3 separate regions of the Homo sapiens genome follow, and regions 1 and 3 are each linked to region 2. The links are contacts of gene promoters, found by promoter capture Hi-C in human tissues and cell types (Jung and others, 2019). All regions are on one chromosome and are shown on one strand. Each heading gives the region's core, a stretch centred on a gene start or on the middle of the fragment in contact. The rest is flanking DNA. Distances are from core to core; before and after follow the strand shown. Region 1 has its middle 110 kb from the start of TRIM37. Region 2 holds the start of SUPT4H1 (SPT4 homolog, DSIF elongation factor subunit). Region 3 overlaps SKA2 (spindle and kinetochore associated complex subunit 2).

Region 1 (2,700 bases), core at 119-2,618, 640 kb before region 2:
CTTTTTTATTGGTGAACTTAACCTTGAGATTACTTGGTTAAGATGGTGTCTGTGAGGATTTCCTACTATAGATTTACGTTTTCCCCCTTTGTAATTACTAAATATTTGGGGCAGATACTTTGAAACTATGCAGATACCTTGTTTCTATTAATTATTATTATTATTTTTTTTTGGAAGACAGGGTCTGGCTTTGTTACCCATGCTGTAGTGGTGCGATGTTGGCTCATACAGCCTCAACCCCCTGGGCTTAAGCGATCCTCCCACTTCAGCCTCCTAAGTAGCTGGGACTACAGGCATGCGCAGTCACACTGGGATAATTTTTGTATTTTTTATAGAGATGGAGTTCTTGAGTTCTTGGGTTCAAGTGACCCTCCCGTCTCAGCCTCCAAAAGTGCTGCGATAGAGGCATGTGCCACTGCGCCCAGCCAAAACTCTTGCTTACGAATTTTAGCACCTAGTAGTCGATCTTGCCTATGGGAATTATTACTGTAATGTTTTAATGGTACTTTTCTAATTCACTAATTTCTTCTATGTTTTTTGTTAGAATGCTGTGAGGAAAAGTCCCTTCTTCCCCATTTTTGTAATTTCAGCTACTTATTTATATCAGCTACTTTATATATCTATATATGATGGATATTTATTTTTGAGTTATGACTCAATACTGTTAATATTTTGTAGCTTGGCTTGTTCTAATTTTAGCCATTGGAAACTCTTCCAGATTGGCTCCTGTGCCCTTTTCATATGTCTCATTCTTCTTTTTTTTTTTTTTTAAGCATTTCTTTGCTTTCTGACATCACAAGATGCCTACCCCAGCCATGGAATTAACCACTTCCTAAGGAACCATGGTTCTTTTTATTGGAGAATGCTATCTAGAAACAAAGATTTGGATGCCACATATTTATTATTATTAGACTGTCACTGCTTCTAGTCCCACTCAATGGATAGATAGAAAATGTAAATTGGCTGGGTGTGGTGGTGCACACCTGTGGTCCCGGCTACTTGGGAGGCTGAGGTGGGAGGATCACTTGAGCTTGGGAGGTAGAGGTTGCAGTGAGCCAAAATCGTGCTACTGCACTTCAGCCTGCGTGACAGAGTGAGACACTGTCTCAAAAAAAAGAAAATGTATGGCCGGGCACAGTGGCTCATGCCTGTAATCCCAGTACTTTGGGAGGCTGAGGCAGGTGGATCACCTGAGGTCGGGAGTTCGAGACCAACCTGACCAACATGGAGAAACCCCATCTGTACTAAAAATACAAAATTAGCTGGCTGTGATGGCGCATGCCTGTAATCCCAGCTACTCAGGAGGCTGAGGCAGGAGAATCGCTTAAACCCGTGAGGCGGAGGTTGCAGTGAGCCGAGATCGTGCCATTTGCACTCCAGCCTGGGCAACAAGAGCGAAACTCTGTCTCAAAAAAAAAAAAAAAGAAAGAAAGAAAATGTATATAGACAGCTGTTCCTTAGCATCTGTGAGGGATTGGTTCCAAGACTCCCTGTGGATACCAAAGTCCACAGATGCTCAAGTCCCCTATATAAAACGGTATAGTGTTTGCATATAACCTGTGCACATCCTCCTGGATACTTTGTTTTGGGTTTTGAGACGGTCTCATTCTGTTGCCCAGGCTAGGGTGCAGCTGTGCATAGCTTACTGCAGCTATGAAGTCTTAGGCTCAAGCAATCCTCCCACCTCAGCCTCTCAGGTAGCTGGGACTACAGGTGTGAGCCACCACGCCTGATCTCCCAGATACTTTAAATCATCTCTGGATTACCTGTAATACCTAATACAATGTAAATGCTATGTAAATTATTGTGCTATTTTTTTTATTATTTTTTAAAAATAAATTCTGTCTATTGTTGGTTGACTCCATGGATGCAGAAACCAAAGATAATAGAGGGCTGACTGTATAGTTAACTCATGCAAATACACACATTTATGTGTATTTCTGTACATATCTGTGTGTGTGTGTCACTATGACTGTGAGTCTATATTGGTAACAGTTCAGCTCCAGAGGCCTCATTCTGGCCTTCCCTCTTATTTATAATGCCTTTCTCTGACAGAAGCCTAGCTCTCATTAGCTACAATATATGTATGTACTTGTTCAACCCTAATATACAAGTAGCTTCAGAACCGTTGGCCTCCTGTGGATTCCAGGCTATGCCCTACAAAAAACAGATTTACCACCTAAAATACAGTGCTTGTATACAGTTCTTTTAGTCTTTAGCTTTTCAGTATTGTGTCATAACATTTTTTTCAAAGATATTTAGGTTCAAAATTACATTAGTTCTGTTCTTTCACAAAATCCCTTCATTGTGATTTTGTGCTTCGTTGGTGTAACAGGTTCATCTGTTATGGTCTACATTCTGTCCTCCCCCACATATCCTGGTTAATTTGTAAATTTACATACATTAAAATTCAGTCTTTCTGGCATACAGTTCTGTGGGTTTCAACAAATGTCTTGTATCCGCCACCACAATACTATACAGAACATTTCAGTCACCCCCAAGATTCCCCTGTGCTGGCCCTTTATAGGTAACCACCCCCCTTCCCCACAGCTCCTGGCTACCGCTGATCTGATCTGATCTGATCTGTTCTCTGCCCTTTTAGTTTTTGCTTTTCCAGAGTCATGTAAACGGGATCACAGTTTGACCTCTCGCTTCGCAAAGTGCAGTTAAGTTTCACTCATCTTGTGTGAATCAGCACCT
Region 2 (2,700 bases), core at 184-2,683:
CAGGGTAACAACGTCATCTCTTTCTACATCAAGAGAAGTAAATTATTTATGTTATCAGAGGCTAGGCTCCGATTCATGAAAGGATAGGGTAGAGTAGAGGGCTTGGCAATAAGAACTGGTTTGTAAGCCCCTAAAAGTGTGGCTTAGTGAGATCAGGGAAGGAGAAAGCATGACTGGATTCTTACTGTGCTTCAGTCATTATTATTATACTGTTCACTTCACACATTATCATACTTCAGTGACTCAGACCTTGGGCAAATACTCTGTGCCTCGCTTTTTCAGTCCATAAAATGGGCCTACTTAATAGTTGTTGCAGGACTTACATGAGATAATAGAGTGTAGAAAATATGTTCCAAAGTGGAAAGTTTTATTCAGTGATAGAAAACATCCAAACCTGTCACAGAGCCCATCTGAACACAGCATGGGACCGCCAACAAGAAGAAAGCCCGCCCGGAAGCAGCTCAATCAGGAGGCTGGGCTGGAATGACAGCGCAGCGGGGCCTGAAACTATTTATATCCCAAAGCTCCTCTCAGATAAACACAAATGACTGCGTTCTGCCTGCACTCGGGCTATTGCGAGGACAGAGAGCTGGTGCTCCATTGGCGTGAAGTCTCCAGGGCCAGAAGGGGCCTTTGTCGCTTCCTCACAAGGCACAAGTTCCCCTTCTGCTTCCCCGAGAAAGGTTTGGTAGGGGTGGTGGTTTAGTGCCTATAGAACAAGGCATTTCGCTTCCTAGACGGTGAAATGAAAGGGAAAAAAAGGACACCTAATCTCCTACAAATGGTCTTTAGTAAAGGAACCGTGTCTAAGCGCTAAGAACTGCGCAAAGTATAAATTATCAGCCGGAACGAGCAAACAGACGGAGTTTTAAAAGATAAATACGCATTTTTTTCCGCCGTAGCTCCCAGGCCAGCATTCCTGTGGGAAGCAAGTGGAAACCCTATAGCGCTCTCGCAGTTAGGAAGGAGGGGTGGGGCTGTCCCTGGATTTCTTCTCGGTCTCTGCAGAGACAATCCAGAGGGAGACAGTGGATTCACTGCCCCCAATGCTTCTAAAACGGGGAGACAAAACAAAAAAAAACAAACTTCGGGTTACCATCGGGGAACAGGACCGACGCCCAGGGCCACCAGCCCAGATCAAACAGCCCGCGTCTCGGCGCTGCGGCTCAGCCCGACACACTCCCGCGCAAGCGCAGCCGCCCCCCCGCCCCGGGGGCCCGCTGACTACCCCACACAGCCTCCGCCGCGCCCTCGGCGGGCTCAGGTGGCTGCGACGCGCTCCGGCCCAGGTGGCGGCCGGCCGCCCAGCCTCCCCGCCTGCTGGCGGGAGAAACCATCTCCTCTGGCGGGGGTAGGGGCGGAGCTGGCGTCCGCCCACACCGGAAGAGGAAGTCTAAGCGCCGGAAGTGGTGGGCATTCTGGGTAACGAGCTATTTACTTCCTGCGGGTGCACAGGCTGTGGTCGTCTATCTCCCTGTTGTTCTTCCCATCGGCGAAGATGGCCCTGGAGACGGTGCCGAAGGACCTGCGGCATCTGCGGGCCTGTTTGCTGTGTTCGCTGGTCAAGGTGTCAGTCGGGGACCTGGTTGTAGGGCCCATGGGGGACCAAGGTCGGGGAAAGAGGGCGGAATGGGGCTGTGGGACAGTAAAGAGAAAAGTTAAGTCTCAGAACTCAGAGGTGGCAGGGGGAGTGAGAAGCCGAAGGAGGCCATCGTTTACCTCGTAGGATCGCGGACAGGTCTTGCAGCTGAGGGCAGGGGCGGTCTTACATGCCTTTGAATCCTCAGCTCTTAGACGTTCGGTGAACTTACGTTGGAGCCGAAAGACACTGGGAGTCAGAGGCGGGTGGGGATCCGCTGCTGAGTGAGTAGTCGGAAAGGATGCCTGACCCTGAGTAGACTAGAGAAAGGAATAGATAAAACGGAATTGGGAACGAGAGAGGAAGGAGTGGGAGGGTGGGACTTAGGAATGAAGCTTTGAGAGTAGTAGGTGGGGAACCTTAGGATACACAGTCAACATAGGGAAACAAGAAATTGAGCAGGTCGAAGTATTGAGAAAGCTACTTTTTCTCTTGGTCTTGTTCATGCTTATCTCTCCTTTTCCTTTATTTTTCTTTCACTCCCAGACTATAGACCAGTTTGAATATGATGGTTGTGACAATTGTGATGCATATCTACAAATGAAGGGTAACCGAGAGATGGTATATGACTGCACTAGCTCTTCCTTTGATGGGTAAGCCGCTTCAGTTTCCATCATTCACTTCTGCATTACCCAACCTGCACCCAGAGAAGTAAATGCAGGGCAAGTGTTAATCCTAGTTGGGCCCAGCCATTCGTTTTTGGGGGTTATTTTGTGTGGGTTTTTTTTTTTTTTTTTTTTTTTGAATCAGGGTTTTGCTCTGTGGCTCAGGCTGGAGTGCAGTGGCATGATCATAGCTCACTGCAGCGTGGAATGATCCTCTGACTTCAACCTCCCAGAGTGCTGGGATTATAGGTGTAAGCCACTGTGTCCAGCCTCAACAGTTATTTTGGGACATACTAGTGCTATGCATCTAATACAGTGACCACTATCCACGTGTAGCTACTGAGCACTTGAAATGTGTCTAGTCCAAATTAAGACATGCTTTTAAGTATAAAATATACCCCAGATTTCAAAGACTTAACATGAGAAGAAAGAATGTAATCTTAATAATGTTTGTTA
Region 3 (2,700 bases), core at 32-2,531, 770 kb before region 2:
ACAGGCGTGAGCCACTGCGCCCGGCCTAACCCTTTGTTTGATGAGTGGTTTGGTTGAATATAGGATTCTAGATTGGAGATTTTCTCTTAATTTTAACATCATTACTTCGTGGTTTTCTAGCTTCTATTGTTGCTGTTGAAAAATGGATGCCATTCTCATTCCTGATCCTTTGTCTGTGCTTTCCTCCTCAGCCTACCCCAGTCCCTTACCTATCACCTGGAAGTTTCAGAATATTTTTTCTATCCTGCGAAAATTTACAGTTATGGTATAGATCTTTTTATTAATTGTGCTGTCACTTGGTGGGGCCTGAAAATATATGAATCTTACCTAATCATAAAAAAAGAAATCTGGCAGGATACAGTGGCTCACACCTGTAATTCTAGCACTTTGGGAGGCTGATGCAGGAGGATCACTTGAGGCCAGGAGTTTAAGACCAGCCTGGGCAACACAGTGAGATTCCTGTATCTATTTAAAAAAAAAATTAAAGAAAAGAATTACCAAGTGGCAGAAGGGGTCCAATTGAAATGTCTTTTATGGAATAGTGGTAATGTATATTACAAAATAAATCTGGAAAACCAGCATAGTTTATAAATACAGTTGGGTTGGCATGAATTTTATATTTTGTGTGTATATAAGTAAATTGATATTTATACATACTTTATCCCCATGATAGTATGTTTACGAATTTTGGCCGGGCGCAGTGGCTCACACCTGTAATCCCAGCACTTTGGGAGGTTGAGGCGGGCGGATCACAAGGTCAGGAGATTGAGACCATCCTTGCTAACACGGTGAAACCCCTTCTCTACTAAAAATACAAAAAATTAGCTGGGCGTGGTGGCGGGCGCCTGTAGTCCCAGCTACTCCGGAGGCTGAGGCAGGAGAATGGCATGAACCTGGGAGGTGAAGCTTGCAGTGAGCTGAGATTGCGCCACTGCACTCCAGCCTGGGCAACAGAGTGAGACTCCATCTCAAAAAAAAAAAAAAGATTTTTATAAGTAGTTTCAAGTTCTTATTCTTTAAGAACAAATACTAATAGTGCCTTTTATCTTCTTCTGAATAGCATTTAGAATTGTATTTTAGAAATATTGTATAATTTATTATTGTGAACTATCCATCAAATGTTATATATCTAAGGTGACCCTTATTTGCTGTTTAATATTGCTAATTTTTTTGGTGGGTTATTTCTGTACCTAGGCTATAAATTCCTTGAGAATAGGATCTAGGTCTTATACTTTTCTCTCTTCCCCACCTCCCATCTGATGTCATGTGGCTGCATAATTAAATACTCAACAGTGTTCAATTAAATGGATGGTAGAATGTGTTGTATGTATACAGTATTTTAATTCTTAAAAAGTTTAATCTTTCATAATTTAATACATGTTCACTTTTTTCCTGACATAGAAAAATCCAGTTACACTCTTAAAGGAATTGTCAGTGATAAAGTCTCGATATCAAACTTTGTATGCCCGCTTTAAACCAGTTGCTGTTGAGCAGAAAGAGAGTAAGAGCCGCATTTGTGCTACTGTGAAAAAGACTATGAATATGATACAAAAACTACAGAAGCAAACAGACCTGGAGGTAATGCTTTCAGTTGACAGGTTAGATTTGTTTAGCTTTAGCTCTGAGTGTTGCTTTGAAAAATAAACCTGATGTAACTTAAATTTTGAAACTCAGCAGTCAGTTTGAACTATTGAAAGATTTTCCTGATACCCTGAAGTATAATAGCTCTTATTTCTGTTTATTTAAAAATAAGCATTTGGACTTGACATGGTTAATAAAGAATTGTGCTGTCTTGAATTATGTAACCATGGCAGAAAACTTGGTAATACTTATAAAATCTAGCAGCTTAGCTGGTTCCTGTAAGTACTAGTGAGACTGAGATGTCTAGAAAAGGGTGGCTTAGAGTGCTGTATCAAGGAGCTGTGTCTGGACATGGCAGAAAATAGCGTAGTCTGCCACGAGCATGGGAAGGAGGAAGGGCTGCATATGTGATATTTATTTGCCAACTCTACACTAAATTTTGGCTTAAGATACTTTGAATTATGGGCTTGTAGCTAGAGTAAATCAGAAAGGTTAATTACCCAGGTCAGTTTGATCAAGAATACTTTATATTGCAAATGGAGGGGAAAAAATAGAATAATATCTGCTTAGAACGATAAAATGATACCTTAGATGTATCTGTTATATCACAAGGAGATGAATGATGGAGGAAGGAAGGGCAATTGAACAGGGAATAGAGGTAATGGGGAGACAGAATTTAAAACAGGGTTGTGTCACATGCTAGTAAATTAAATGCAAAAAAAAGTATGTATATGATAAGCTTTTATAAATCATCTCAAATCACACATTCTTCATTATATGTGCCTGACAATAGAGCACATAACCTTGTTCTTGGAAAACAAATAGCTGATTAAGTATAGTTCCAGATGTACATGACAACATATCTGTATAGAACCATAAATTTATTGAAGCACAGAATAAACTTGGGTGAGAGGGCAAAGGGAAAAATGGTATTTTGAATATTTACAAATTTCCCCCACTGGATATAATAAATTGATGGTATATTTTTGAGACTACAAATTGGTACATAAAAGTAGTTATATAGTAATAGAGGATTTTTTTTCTTTTTTGAGATGGAGTTTCACTCTTGCTGCCCAGGCTGGAGTGCAATGGCACCATCTCGGCTCACTGCAACCTCCA

What was found. The method cuts DNA at HindIII sites, captures the fragments that hold promoters and counts their contacts. A contact is called where the count stands out against the background at its distance.
Region 1: a contact is called between a fragment that was not itself captured here and the fragment with the promoter of SUPT4H1 in region 2, in 1 of the 25 tissues and cell types used here (dorsolateral prefrontal cortex).
Region 3: a contact is called between a fragment that was not itself captured here and the fragment with the promoter of SUPT4H1 in region 2, in 1 of the 25 tissues and cell types used here (bladder).

The regions. Positions count from the first base shown.
Region 1 is chr17:58,993,475-58,996,174 of GRCh38, reverse strand. It overlaps a transcript of TRIM37 not described here. Among named protein-coding and RNA genes, the nearest start is that of TRIM37, 110 kb to the left of the region's middle. RefSeq lists a silencer at 2,478-2,678. The HindIII fragment of the contact is 8,511 bases long and covers 1-2,700 here.
Region 2 is chr17:58,350,934-58,353,633 of GRCh38, reverse strand. SUPT4H1 (SPT4 homolog, DSIF elongation factor subunit) reads left to right here and starts at 1,433. Exons shown (of 5, transcript NM_003168.3): 1 at 1,433-1,567; 2 at 2,126-2,232. The coding sequence starts at 1,499. TSPOAP1-AS1 (TSPOAP1, SUPT4H1 and RNF43 antisense RNA 1) reads right to left here. Exons shown (of 5, transcript NR_038410.1): 4 at 1,720-1,890; 5 at 1-1,635. It also overlaps a transcript of RNF43 not described here. RefSeq lists an enhancer at 117-652 and silencers at 1,040-1,469, 1,750-1,859. The HindIII fragment of the contact is 5,411 bases long and covers 1-2,700 here.
Region 3 is chr17:59,118,197-59,120,896 of GRCh38, reverse strand. It overlaps SKA2 (spindle and kinetochore associated complex subunit 2), which reads left to right. Exons shown (of 4, transcript NM_182620.4): 3 at 1,402-1,578. It overlaps LOC124904039 (a long non-coding RNA gene), which reads right to left. Exons shown (of 2, transcript XR_007065864.1): 2 at 2,444-2,700. Among named protein-coding and RNA genes, the nearest start is that of TRIM37, 13 kb to the right of the region's middle. The HindIII fragment of the contact is 4,853 bases long and covers 1-2,700 here.